3 separate regions of the Homo sapiens genome follow, and regions 1 and 3 are each linked to region 2. The links are contacts of gene promoters, found by promoter capture Hi-C in blood cells and fetal thymus (Javierre and others, 2016). All regions are on one chromosome and are shown on one strand. Each heading gives the region's core, a stretch centred on a gene start or on the middle of the fragment in contact. The rest is flanking DNA. Distances are from core to core; before and after follow the strand shown.

Region 1 (2,700 bases), core at 198-2,697, 940 kb after region 2:
TGATCTCATTATTGTCATGTATTTTTTCTTTACCACACACAAAAAATACACACACTGTTTCTATTCCGTTCTGCTACTTTCTTTTCTTGCCTAATATAAAATATATACGAAAGTAGAGATTTTAGTGAACCCTTTTGTAATTACCCATCTGCAAATATTATCAACTGATAACCAAGCTTGTTTTATCTATCTTTCATCCCCACCTACTCCTATCGTCATCATCATCATGATCTAGCCAATCCCTTGTTAATATTTTGTTTAGGGTTTATACTACTGTGTTCATAAGACATAAGGGCCTGTAATTTTACTTTCTTCTATTGTTTCTGTCACCTTTTGGTATCATGTTACATTGGCCTCATGTTGGAAAGTATTCTCTTTATATTCTCTGGGAAAATTTGGGTAATATTGGTACTATTTCCATCTTAAATTTTTTTTTTTTTTGAGATGGAGTTTCACTCTTGTCGCCCAGGCTGGAGTGCAATGGCACGATATCCGCTCATTGCAACCTCTGCCTCCCAGGTTCAAGCGATTCTCCTGCCTCAGTCTCCCAAGTAGCTGGGATTACAAGTGCCCGCCACCAAGTAGCTGGGATTACAAGTGCCTGCCTGCCTTCCTTCCTTCCTTCCTCCCTCCCTCCCTCCCTCCCTCTCTCTCTCTCTCTCTCTCTCTTTCTTTCTTTCTTTTTTTTTGAGACCGGGTTTCACCCCAGTTGCCCAGGCTAGAGTGCAGTGGCACTATCTTGCCTCACTGCAGCCTTGACCTCCCAGGCTAACTTTTGTATTTTTAGTAGAGATGGGGTTTCACCATGTTGGGCAGGCTGGTCTCGAATTCCTGGCCTCAGGTGATCCACCCACCTCGGCCTCCCAAAGTGTTGGGATTACAGGCATGAGCCACTGCGCCCGGCCTATTTCCTTCTTAAATGTTTGAAAGAGCTCCCCAGTGAAGCCATCAGGGTATGGAGTTTTCTTTGTGGGAAGGTTTTAAATTACATATTCAATTTATTTAAAAGATATACTACCATTCAGATTTTCTATTTCTTTTTATGTCTGGTTTGGTAAATTGTAATTTTCAAGTAATTTGTCCAGTTCCTCTAAGTCAGGGGTCAGCAAACTTTTTCTGTAGAGGGACAGATCGAAGTATCTGAGGCTTTGTGGGCCATACGGCCCCTGTTGCAACTATTCAAATCTGCTGTTTTAGGTAGAAAGCAGCTATTGACAATATGTAAACCAATGAGCCTGGCTGTGATTCAATAACACTTTATTTATGGATGCTGAAGGTTGGATTTCATATAATTTTCATGTGTCATAAAATATTCTTCTTTTGACTTTTTTTTCAATCATTAAAAATGTAAAAACCAGACCAGATACAGCTAGCTATTCACGCCTATAATCCCAGCACTTTGGGAGGCCAAGGTGGGCGGATTGCTTGAGCTCAGGAGTTCTAGACCAGCCTGGGCAGCATGGCGAAACCGCATCTCTACAAAAAAATACAAAAATTAACCAGGCATGGTGGCATGCGCCTGTGGTCCCAGCTACTCAGGAGGCTGATGTAGGAGAATCACTTGAGCCCGGGAGGAGGAGGTTGCAGTGAATCAAGACTGTTCCACTGTACTCCAGCTTGGCTGATAGAGCAAGACTGTCTCAAAAGAAAACGTGTAAAACCAGTTTAGCTTGTGGGCCATTGAAAAACACATGATGGGCTAAATTTGGCCTGCAGGCTATAGTTTGCTATGTCCTGATCTACATTGTCTACTGATGTACATTGTCAAATTAATGTCCATTAAATGTCCATTTAATGTTTGCAGGATACCAGAACCTTGTTGATGGGCTGTAAAAAAGTTATTTCTAGTTTTTCTTTTATATACAGTAGTAATAATAATAAGAAGAATCATAGCTACTATTTACTCAGTGCTTATCATGTGCCAGGCACTGCTATTATAAAATATCGTGGGATTAACTTATTTAATTCACCCAGGAACCCTCTGTGCTAGGTACCATTGTTATTCCCATTTTTCAGATGAAGAAAATGAGGCACAGAGATCACACAGCTAGTACATGACCTAACCAGACCTCTCAAGCAGTGAAGTCACAAATAAAACAACCATATAAAGATATCTTTTTATATTTGTGAAGTATTTGTGTAGGCCACATTCTCAGACATGAGTGTGCTAGGTCAGAGGCACACAGACTTATAAATTTAAAGAGTATTTTTCAAATCGTATATATATATATTTTTTTGAGACAAAGTCTCACTCTGTCCCCCAGGTTGGAGTGCAGTGGCATGATCTCAGCTCACTGTAACCTCCGCCTCCCAGGTTCAAGCGATTCTCATGCCTCAGCCTCCGGAGTAGCAGGGATTACAAGTGCCTGCCACCACGCCCGGCTAATTTTTGTATTTTTAGTAGAGACTGGGTTTCACCATGTTGGGCAGGCTGGTCTCGAACTCCTGACCTCAAGTGATCTGCCCACCTTGGCCTCCCAAAGTGCTGGGATTACAGGCATGAGCCACCCTGCCCAGCCCAAATTGTATTTCAATACTGTGTAATCAGCTGAACATGTGGCCACAAATTGTTTACAAGAAAGCCCACCTGTTTCCCAAGGTTCCCCCTCCCTCCTGCCACCATTAGCCATCATCTGTTTTTTTCATTCTTGTTGTTTTTATGATTAAGCATTATATCTCATTTTCATTTGCTTTTCTATA
Region 2 (2,700 bases), core at 165-2,664:
TCAAAGAGTCCTGGCTGGCAATACTTTTCTTTTTCTTTCTTTTCTTGGAGACAGAGTCTCGCTCTATCCCCCAGGCTGGAGTGTAGTGGTGCGATCTCGGCTCACCGCAACCTCTGCCTGGCGGGTTCAAGCGATTCTCGTGCCTCAGCCTTCCGAGTAGCTGGGATTACAGGCGCCCACCACCACACCCGGCCAATTTTTGTGTTTTTAGTAGAGATGGGGTTTCACCATGTTGGCCAGGTTAGTCTCGAACTCCTGACCGCAAGTGAACAGCCCTCCTTGGCCTCCCAAAGTGCTGGGATTACAGGCGTGAGCCACCGCGCCCGGCCCTGCTGGAAATATTTTTCCACAGCAGGGAAATCATTAAATTCTACGAAAATAAGAAGGCTGGGCGCGGTGGCTCACGCCTTAATCCCAGCACTCTGGGAGGCCGAGGCGGGCGGACTACCTGAGGTCGGGAGTTCGAGACCGGCCTGACCAATATGGAGAAACCCCGTCTCTACTAAAAAAAAAAAAAAAAATTACCCGGACGAGGTGGCGGGCGCCTGTAATCCCAGCTACTCGGGAGGCTGAGGCAGGAGAATCGCTTGAACTCGCCAAGCGGAGGTTGCTGTGATCGGATATCGTGCCACTGCACTCCAGCCTGGGCAACAAAAGTGAAACTCCGTCTCAAAAAAGAAAAACAACAACAACAACAACAACAAAAACAGAAAGAAAAAAGAAAATAAGAAAAAAACTACACTGAGATACCATTTCTTACTCTCAGATCGGTGAGGGTTATAGTGAATTCTAATACTTGAATGAGCCTGGTGTTTCACCACCCTGGTTTGTTTTTTGTTTTTGTTTTGTTTTAATGTAGCTTTTTCGTTTGATTCACTGTCACTCTTTCCACTCTGCTATTTTTATTGGTGGCTAAGTCCTTTACCTAACGTGACATGCAGTATCATGATAACAAAATAAGTGTCAAACCTTAAAAAAAAAAAAAAAAAAAAAGGCCAAAGGCTTTACAAGAGGTGGGATTCCCCTTTGGGGTCTCCCGGAGGAGGGGCGGGAACAAGACCAGAGCGAAGCTTCCGCTTTCATTTCTATGGTTATTAAGTTACCCATTCTCATTAAAGGAATACCGCGGAAGGGTGATTTTCTGTCGGCAAAGACTTCCCTAGCGACGAGTCCACCCATGAAACGGGGATGTAATAATGTCGTATCACAATGGGTGGCCTAGAAGAGTCCAAAAGCCAATCAGATGACTTACATTCGGGTAGAACGTTGTATTACAGTTCACCTGACTCGTCGGTTTCGTTCTCTTCTCTGCGTCTCCAAAATGCTGCCCTTCGGAATTAGGTTCTACCCCCTCCATTCCTGGCCAGTGGTTTGGTCCGACCTTAATACTGCCAGGAGGCGCGAGCTGCGTCTGCGCAGAAAGCTGGCGGGGGGGTGGGGGGAGGAACATGGCGCAAGCTCTGTCTGAGGAGGAGTTTCAGCGGATGCAGGTGCCGCTCGCGGTGGGAAAGACCACCCGGCTAGGCGACCGGGGGCGGGGTAGCGAGAGGTCGTGCTATCAGCTCTGAGAAGGGGTTGGTTGGGATGGACCCTGAGTTTATGGGGTGGGTCTGGAGAAGGGAAACTGAGGCTCGGAGTGGTGAGACTATTGGATTCCGAGATACTCTGCGGCTTTGAAGGTTGGACTCTGTTAGCATTGTGGGCTGGGAGAGCGCCATTAAGTAGGCGGTACCTTACTCAGACCTGGAGGGGACGAGACTTTTGGGCCCGTGCAGGGGACACCGTCGGCGGGTGATGATAATGGGCTTTGAGGGAAGGAGATCCTGAGAAGGCGAAACCATTTTGTCTGGAGAGGAAGGAAGCGGGTGTTGGGTCGTTTGCGTCATGGTGGTGGGAGCCCTTGAGAGGGCAGAACCATTAGCGGGTGGGAGGTGGTAAGTTTTGGGGGAGATACCACTGTGCCCGGGGATTGGGGAAAGACCCCAGATGTTGTCATTGTTCCTGGGAGGTGGAGATCCTGTGCCATTGGTGGTTGGTAGTGCATCCTAAGAGGGGGCGGCACCATTGGATGATTAAGGGTGATCCCATTAGGCCTGGGGTGAAGAAGGCCATGAATGGGTAATACCATTAATCCCATTAACTGGGGGGAGGACCAGAGGGGTAAAAGATTGATACCTTGGACTACAAGGAGGGAAGATCACTGGGCTTTGGGGAGGTACCCCCACTTGATTCTTTTGGGGGGACTCTGAGATGCAATGAAAGGCCATAGCATTGCACTATGAATGGGCCCTTGTTGAGAGGGTTCCTCACTGGGGGGGGGGTCTGAACAGGGTCCTGCATGGGGAGGGGAGGAACTCTGAGGGAGGACAGGTAATCCAATTGGTCCTTGAATGAGGGAAACCAGCTGTCCCTGTGTGAGGGACACTGAGAATGGAAGGGCGAGTTGATTAACCCATGAATGGGGAAGACCACTGTCATCTGAAAGGGATTCTAAGTGAGTAAGAGTCATCCAACTGGCCTACCCAAGGCCTTGTAGAGGCCTACCCTGAAGGGTGTAGGGCCATTCCCAATGGATCATGACTGGGGAGATCTTGAGGGGAGTGGGAATACCCTTGAATGAGGAACATTGATCCCACTGGGCCATGAATGAGGGAGAACTACTGGGCTTTGTTGGGGGGCAAGTCTCGGGGGGTACAAAGG
Region 3 (2,700 bases), core at 139-2,638, 760 kb before region 2:
GGATTTTGAGACCAGCATGACCAATGTGGTGAAACCCCGTCTCTATCAAAAATACAAAAAAAAAAAATTAGTCAGGCGTGGTGGCACGTGCCTGTAATCCCAGCTACGCAGGAGGGCTGAGGCAGGAGAATCACTTCAACCCGGGAGGCGGAGGTTTCAGTGAGCCAAGATCACACCACTGCACTCCAGCCTGGGTGACAGAGTGAGACTCCGTCTCAAAACAAACAAGAAAATAAAAAAACCCCACACTGGCCCCCTCATGGCACTCTTGCTTCAAATCTTTCAACCTTTTCTGTTTGGCTTTTGGAGCCTTCCACTGTCTGGCTTTTTCCTCTCTCTAAATCCTATCAATTGTGACATATCCAGTTCAATTTCTACCCCACTTTAAGGCCTTTTCAAGCTTTTGTTGGACTTATCTATGAATTCATATGATACTTAGCATCAATGCCATAATTGCTGCCTTGCTCTTGCTCACCTTAAACAGAATAGTAAACACCCCCATGCTAGATCTTGAAGATTTTTACAGATAGGGACAATGTCCTATAAGCCTATATACCCTTCTACCAGTCAGTACAGAACTGAGCACACAGAAAACAAGCAATATAGATTTCATTGATTGAGTAATTGGTTGTTTTTCCCTCTCTGGCCTCGGTGATTTCATATGTAAAATGACAGGACTGTGACAAGGACTGGAAGATCTTCCTCCAGCCTTGAGGCTCGATGGAGCTGTGATTAAAAGCCCCAAACTTTTATCAGAAAAAGATAATAAATTTTAGCCACTGGTGAAAATTGAAAGGATCATGTTCTGAGCTGCAACGTTGTTGATTTCATAATATTTCCCATCCCTCTGGAAACTCCAGAAAACTAAGTTACTATTCCCCCTTCCACCGAAAGTAAGAAAAATCAGAACCACTGAGATGAAACATCACACCACCCAGTTGGGAAGGTAACCTCAGGAAGTTTCTCCAGAATTCAGTACAAACATTTCAGATTTAATACTTTGCTAATGGGACATTATTGTGTTTCACACAATGAGTGGTGTAATGATGAATTACAGCTGCGGGACTGACTGCCCTCTGCTCAAACCCTTTCAGAAGGAGTACTGTGGGGCCTCCTTCTGGTCACAATGTAGGATATTGGAATTCATTCCTAGAGTTTGAGGACACCTGTTGAGACAGAGAGAAAGAGAGAGAGAGAGACAGAGAGAGGAGGAGAGAGAAAGAGAGAGAAGGAAAGAGAGAGAAACAGAGAGACAGAAGGAGAGAGAAAAACAGGAGAGAGAGAAAGAAAAAGAAAGAAAGGAAAAGAAAGAAAGAAAAGAAATGGAAAGAAAGAAGAGAAAGAGGAATGGAGGCAGACACCTTCCATCTGCAGTGCCCCAAGCGCTTATCATTGGTTTGGACACAGAGCAAGCATAAGTGTTTATTAAGACTTGGCCACTGAGGGCAGAGAGAAGTGAACTGGAGATGGGAATGGAGGGCAAGATGCAGGAGGTGCAGCAGGGCAAAGAAAATTAACTTCTCCCTTTCTTAAATTTAGCCCCAAGAGGGCTCCACTAACTTAAACCTATTTCAGTCTTATGAGAAATTTCTATTTCATTCTAATCATGACAGACCACTATACAAACTCAAATTGAGGGACTGCCTACAAAACACCTGACCACTAAAATGTCAAGGTCATGGAAAACAAGAAAAGACCGAGGAGCTGTCACAGACTGGAGACATGATGTGACTAAGATGATAAATACCATGGGGAATCCTGAATGGATCCTGGAAAAACTGATGAAATCTGAATAACTTTTATAGTTTGGTTAATAATATTGTATCAAGATTAATGCGTCACATTTGATAAATATTTTCTGGTTATATAAGATAAGGTTTCCTTCTAGACCCTCTCTTTCCTGTCAGCTTCTACATTCCTCTGAGAGCTCAACAGTGACTCTTAGAGGCCTCTAGCCGCAATAACAGCAAATCAGTTCAGCAATCTGAAAGAATGAGCCATTTGGACCTGCATTTTCCAAATTATTGAAACAAACTCTTTTGGCAGGCACTATTTTTAGAAAAGTAGTATTCATTTCTCTGCCATCTTATAAAGAGCATGGAAATCACCACTTAATTCTTCATTGTCCATACCTATTAGTATAAACATCTGCTTTTGGGCCAAGTGCAATGTCTCACACCTGCAATCCCAGCACTTTGGGAGGCTGAGGTGGAGGATCACTTAAGACCAGAAGTTCATCCTCAGATGCCCATCCAGAGAAGGGGAGCTGGTGCTATTCAATGGGCTCCAGATGGAAATGTGCCTGAGCTGCAGACTTCAGGGGAATACTTGAATAAGTTCAGTGAATTTTTGTCCTTCTCTTCATAGAAAGCTTGACTTGCTTTGTCATGTTTCCACGTGTAACCAAAGCCAGATGAAGAAATACAGACACTCTACCATACAAACTCTGTAACCTACACATCCAAATTGAGTAAAACCAAAGACTGCAGCTGGGGCCGCCAAGAAGCTGCAGGAAGAAGTAAGCAAGCAGGACCTCAGCAGGCAAATTTACTGGGGTCAGGAGCACAGGCTTGAGATAGGGCATCCCCAGCCCCCACCCCACTAAAAGACACCAGGTCCAGGAGATCTTAGGGCTATGCTTCTCAGCACCACGTGGTTGGCTCAACTCCTTTGCCCTGGCTGCAATGCCACCACATTACT

The links. The method cuts DNA at HindIII sites, captures the fragments that hold promoters and counts their contacts. A CHiCAGO score of 5 or more calls a contact.
Region 1: a fragment that was not itself captured here is called in contact with the fragment with the promoter of GRIPAP1 in region 2 in 1 of 17 cell types (total B cells); the score reaches 5.5 in total B cells.
Region 3: a fragment that was not itself captured here is called in contact with the fragment with the promoter of GRIPAP1 in region 2 in 1 of 17 cell types (naive CD4 T cells); the score reaches 5.0 in naive CD4 T cells.

What each region holds. Positions count from the first base shown.
Region 1 is chrX:48,063,425-48,066,124 of GRCh38, reverse strand. All of the region lies in intron 2 of ZNF630 (zinc finger protein 630), which reads left to right. All of the region lies in intron 1 of ZNF630-AS1 (ZNF630 antisense RNA 1), which reads right to left. Among named protein-coding and RNA genes, the nearest start is that of ZNF630, 6.9 kb to the left of the region's middle. The HindIII fragment of the contact is 2,537 bases long and covers 179-2,700 here.
Region 2 is chrX:49,000,978-49,003,677 of GRCh38, reverse strand. It overlaps GRIPAP1 (GRIP1 associated protein 1), which reads left to right and starts at 1,414. Exons shown (of 26, transcript NM_020137.5): 1 at 1,414-1,490. The coding sequence starts at 1,449. RefSeq lists a cis regulatory region at 1-23 and an enhancer at 1,296-1,405. The HindIII fragment of the contact is 9,873 bases long and covers 1,073-2,700 here.
Region 3 is chrX:49,760,918-49,763,617 of GRCh38, reverse strand. No RefSeq gene overlaps it. Among named protein-coding and RNA genes, the nearest start is that of PAGE1, 66 kb to the right of the region's middle. The HindIII fragment of the contact is 1,971 bases long and covers 403-2,373 here.